Regions from separate parts of the Homo sapiens genome. Here region 1 is linked to region 2. The links are contacts of gene promoters, found by promoter capture Hi-C in blood cells and fetal thymus (Javierre and others, 2016). All regions are on one chromosome and are shown on one strand. Each heading gives the region's core, a stretch centred on a gene start or on the middle of the fragment in contact. The rest is flanking DNA. Distances are from core to core; before and after follow the strand shown.

Region 1 (2,700 bases), core at 110-2,609, 670 kb after region 2:
GTGGCACAGCCATATAAGAATTAGCAGATTGTGGCTGGGCGAGGTGGCTCACGCCTGTAATCCCAGCACTTTGGGAGGCCGAGGCGGGCAAATCACAATGTCAGGAGATTGAGACCATCCTGGCTAACACGGTGAAACCCTGTCTCTACTAAAAATACAAAAAATTAGCCGGGCGTGGTGGCGGGTGCCTGTAATCCCAGCTAATTGGGAGGCTGAGGCAGGAGAATGGCACGAACCTGGGAGGCGGAGCTTGCAGTGAGCTGAGCACCACTGCACTCCAGCCTGGGCAAGAGTGCAAGACTCTGTCTCAAAAAAAAAAAAAAAAAATTAGCAGATTCTACTATGCCAAACAAAAAAACTAAGCTAAAAGGAACTTTGGTAGACAGAACTCTAACTTGAGCATTTTTTTTTAGGATTGTGAAGTTGTACTTAATTGTTTCTATGTTTCATCAGGTGGACATGAGCAAAGTAAATTTGGAGGTTATAAAGCCTTGGATAACAAAAAGAGTAACGGAAATCCTTGGGTTTGAAGATGATGTTGTGATTGAGTTTATATTCAACCAGCTGGAAGTGAAGGTACTAATATACAAATGGCTCTTGTTTCTGAATATGTGATATAATTTGTGAATCTTTGGAAACTGAATTTTTTCTATGGAGTGCAAATATAGAAGGGTTATTTTACAATGTTTGTTGTGAAAAGAATTCACTTTGTAAACAACTATTAAGGCTGGAAGTTTAGTGAAGGTGCATAGTTTTGAAAGCTACACAGGTGAAAAATCAAACTTATTGTTTGTAATTTTGCTGTTACATGTTAAGTTACTTTGACAGCAATTTTCTAATGATAATGTGATTTATGATTTAAAAGGCCTGAACCAAAATGGAAGTTATTCCTTGCGTCTGAAGTATAGCACCATCACCTTATTAGGTCACAGCAGAGTGAGTGTCCCAATGTCGCTCTGACCCAACTCCCTTGATGATGCAGTGTGTGTTTGGAGGTGAGTTGTGTAAAGTGGCCAAACATCAACAACAACAACAAAAAACACAAACAGGAAAGAGCAATTGGGTAAAGCTGTACACTGCTCTTTTAAAATACTATTATGAGATGGACATTTATGTGAAGCATGAGGGGCAATTCTGATTTGATTGGATATTGTTTTTAAAGGAACTAAGGTCTTTGTAGCTGCATGTCAGCTAGTCATCAGTTACATTTTAGAGACAGGATTTTTGTTTATACTTAAACTTCAGACAAATTGGCAGCATATAATTGTTCCTTTATACATGAGATAATATGATGATATAACTGATGTTTAAGAACATTCTTATTGTAAGACAGTTTCTGTTTTGCCACAGCAACCCAAAGGACAGTTAAGATATGTACCATATGACCTTTTTGCATATATACCAATGTGAATTTACTTTTACATTAATCATTTCCCCCAAAGAGTTCACCCTATGTTTTGACAGAACAGTTGGCATTTCAACTGATAAGGTATTTCTAGTTTTAAAATAATTTGGTGTTTGTATTTTGTTTTGAATATTTTTAAAGACTAATTTTAAGAATGCACTTTCTATAAAGTATATGCATCTTAGAAAACCAGGAACAGGGGAGAAAGTTTTTTAAATGATGATTGAAGATAGATTTTATTGGAGAAATGCTTTACTGATGTGTATTTTAGTGCATTTTAAAAACCTAAGTATCTGGTAGTATTCCCCTTGTAGTGAGCATGAGATTAAAGTTTAGAACTTTTTAAGACAATTCTTTTTTTGTGGTTGTGTACTCATTATTGCTTGTTCGTCTTTTGCAATTTAGATAAATGATATAACATTAAACTCAAGGTGGTTGAGTTGCAGTAGGGAGTCGGAAGCAAGCCAAGGGAACATCTTTCTCTACAGGGGACTTGGCGATTCCAAACCCCCAAGGTTCCAAGAAGAAACTGAAGACACCTGGAATCTGTACTTGCTTTGTGCTATTGAGCTGTGCTTGTTATACAGACCTTGTTGCTTGACCAACGGATTTAGCATTTAAAAACCCAATTATTTTTGAGAAATCTTGACCTCTTAGCACTTTGTGGACAGTTGAGAATTTGAGGCATTGTTATAATAGATTTTCCTTATATAAAACTCAGGCCTTTAGCTTAGCCCTCAGAAGTTACAGACTGCATGCATAACTTGTTAGTTTTCATAACTGGACAATAGATATTTTATGCAAAGCTATCTGTAGTGTTAGGGAGCAGTTTATGTACTTTTTCCGTTTCTCATTGGGGGAAAATTTCCAGGCAAGCAAATACTTTTCTTGTTAGTAAATACTAGAATTTGTGGATGTTTCATGATGGTTTTTAAAGTTAATAAATGTAAGGCCCACTAACAGCCACAGAGTCTAAAAATACTTACGAAATCCACAAAGGATTAACAGGCTGCTCTGATGCTTTTGGTAGAGTGAGAGAGAATTTGGTAATCTGTTAGAGATTATATTGCTGAGAAGCTACTAGGGAAGACTATTTGTAAAATAGTAAGGACTATATATATGTCTAAGCCCCTATGGTAGACTTAAAAAATACTAATTTAAATGAGTTTTAGGTTGGTTGATTTGTTGGTTGGTTGGTTTTGAAGTAACCTGTTTTTCTTCCTGTCGTGTCTTTTTGCAGAATCCAGACTCCAAAATGATGCAAATCAACCTGACTGGATTTTTGAATGGAAAAA
Region 2 (2,700 bases), core at 51-2,550:
TACAGCAGCATTAGGTTGTATATAAGCCTTGTTTTTTTTTTTTTTTTTACTTTTACAGCATCAAATCGACTCTAGCACTCTGAAAAATACCAAGCACTTATTTTTACTCCCCAATTTTAGCGACAGATTTACACACTTAACAGTAGATAAATATGGTCTGAAAAAGTCACAAATATCGAACTTCTTAAATAGTTAAGTGTCAAGATGACGTAAAGAGAAAATTTCTCTAGATGCTAACGTAACTATTAGAAATTATGGAAAGAATTATTTATGGAAAGAATTATTGCTTTCTTTCCTTCTTAAATTTAAGACAAAAGCAAATCACAAAGCTAGCAAAAAACCCCCACGAAACACCAAAAACCCAAACCACTTATTTTCTGTGTGTAGATTCATTATTTGTGAAATAAAAAGCCTCATCTTGTAGTAAGAACTCTTCCAAAATAATCTGAAGGCAACTCGAAACAAGGGAATGGTGAGAACAAAGCCTATTTAAGGTACGTCTGAATTAATCTAACTTAGCTGTCAACGTCCTAATGACTGACGCTTCCCAAACCTCCCTTTTCAAAGGGTGACCAGAATTTCCAGGAAATAAGAAAAACTACTCGCAACATTTAACTGGAAAAATCTAACTCCCCAAATCTCAACGCTCCCTTTCTCCAAACACCTCCAACTGATTAAAACCCCCAAATATTAACAACGGCAACAACAACAAAGATAAATGGTAGCAACATTCCTCTCCCTCGATCCCGTTATTTCATCTCACTATTTTTTGGCTGGGGAAAAAAAAAAATCTCTGGGCCAAGGGGGCGTGAACCTCGAAGAATGTGAACTTCAAATCAATGGGGGGCGGCCGTCGGGTCGCGGAAAGGCCGCGGCGGGGGGCTGCTCGCGCCGGCAGGAAGCAGGGAGAAAGGGGCTGCAAACTGCGGAGGGGGAGGGGGACCGAAAAACCCCGCCACGCGGCCCGGCGAAGGCAGAGGCGCCGCCCTCGCTCCCACGCGGCGGCTGAGGCCCGCTGCGCGGCCTAGTTCGGCGCCAAAGCGGGCGCGGGACCCGCCATCTTCACTCCGTCCCCTCCCCCGGCCCAGTGCCGCCACCACCAGGGTCCTCTCCAGGCGCCTGCGGCCTCCCCGCCTAGGCCCGGAGTACCTGCCTTGTACCTACCTGGTGTCGTCGGCCACGTTCCTGACGAACAGAGACGTGTTGGGGGGACGCAGGTAGCGGGACATGGCGGCGGCGTGTCTCGGCCGGGCGCACTAACGGGCTCAGCAAACCGTCCGCGGCTCAGGCGGCCGAGCCTCAGACACACACAGCTAGAGGGCTCTGCTACGGCAACCGACTCTTCTCGCGAGACTTCACTCCCGCCTCCACTTCCCCCTCCTACCTCCGCGCAAAGTCGGGCGCAACGGTTCTTTCCCGCGAGAACACCAGGCGTCCGCCTGCGCATGCGGAGGGCTGGCGCACGCGCCTCAGCGTCGGTGTCATTCGTTGGCTTCTTGCGGTGCCTCTTACCCTCCCCCAAGCCTGTTCTTTCTTTCTTTAGGTCTTCATTTCCCGCCGTTTTCTACCTTACACTCCACTTCATCTCCACCCCCAAATCAGGAAGCAGATGTTTTAGTCTCTAGGCCAAACTTTGCGGTTACTACTAAATGGACAGATTTTTAAACTATTTAGTTCAGAGAGGCTGCCTTAAATTTCCCGGTTGGTCCAAGTTAATGTCCTGCTTTTATTTTGCCTTAAATTTCCCGTTTGGTCCAGGTTATGCCCTGACCTGCGAAAGAAGGATTTACAGCTTGTATTGAGTGTGTAAAGGAAGGAGGTGTGTGCCCTTGCGCAGAGCTGGGCCTGTCTCTCCAGTGTTTTCAGCCTGCCTTTGCCCCTCACCCACACCCTAGCCATCTCCACTTAGTCACGCATTTGGCTCCCAACCTGGGTGGGACCAAACCTCACACTGTAGGTTCATGACTGTGGTCATTTGTAGTGTATTCTTTGTTGCTGACGGCTTCCTGGGTATGCATCGGACCTGTATTGCAGCAGTTCTCAAACTTTTTGGTCTCAGAACGCCTTTATATTCTTGTGTATTACGGAAGATTCCAAAGAGCTTTTTTTAAAAAAAGTGTGGGTTATACCTATTAATAAATAGTTAATGAGAACTTAAAATAGAGGAAACTTCGGCTGGGCTCGGTGGCTCACGCCTGTAATCCCTCCCTGTACTTTGGGAGGCCGAGGCGGGCAGATCACGAGGTCAAGAGTTTGAGACCAGCCTGACCAACACAGTGAAACCCCATCTCTACTAAAAATACAAAAATTAGCCAGGCGTAGTGGCGCGCGCCTGTAATCCCAGCTACTTGGGAGGCTGGGGCAGAAGAATCGCTTGAACTCGGGAGGCAGAGGTTGCAGTGAGCCGAGATTGCACCACTGCATTCCAGCCTGGGCGACAGGGTGAGACTCCGTCTCAAAAAAGAAAAAAAAAAAAAATAGAGAAAACTTTGACACACTCCACTACCCTTTATCACACATCATGTACCCTCTGGAAAACTCCACGTTTGTAAGAGAATGAGCATGAAAATAGCAAATAATCTTTAGTATGGTTTTGATTTTGGAGGCCCTTTTGAGAGCCATTTCCTGCTCGATAAGAGTCAACTTCTGGAGATGAGAGACTTCAGTTGGAATGCCTCCAGCGTGTGGCACAGTGCCAAG

The links. Contacts are between HindIII fragments. The CHiCAGO score rates a contact against its expected background, and 5 or more counts as called.
Region 1: a contact is called between a fragment that was not itself captured here and the fragment with the promoter of SRSF10 in region 2, in 1 of 17 cell types (non-activated CD4 T cells). The highest score is 5.3, in non-activated CD4 T cells.

Annotation. Positions count from the first base shown.
Region 1 is chr1:24,646,214-24,648,913 of GRCh38, forward strand. It overlaps SRRM1 (serine and arginine repetitive matrix 1), which reads left to right. Exons shown (of 17, transcript NM_005839.4): 3 at 454-576; 4 at 2,646-2,700. Among named protein-coding and RNA genes, the nearest start is that of SRRM1, 4.3 kb to the left of the region's middle. The HindIII fragment of the contact is 4,299 bases long and covers 1-2,700 here.
Region 2 is chr1:23,979,027-23,981,726 of GRCh38, forward strand. SRSF10 (serine and arginine rich splicing factor 10) reads right to left here and starts at 1,301. Exons shown (of 6, transcript NM_054016.4): 1 at 1,165-1,301. The coding sequence starts at 1,229. RefSeq lists enhancers at 528-1,518, 756-805, 1,236-1,565, 1,519-2,509, 1,576-1,625. The HindIII fragment of the contact is 15,744 bases long and covers 1-2,700 here.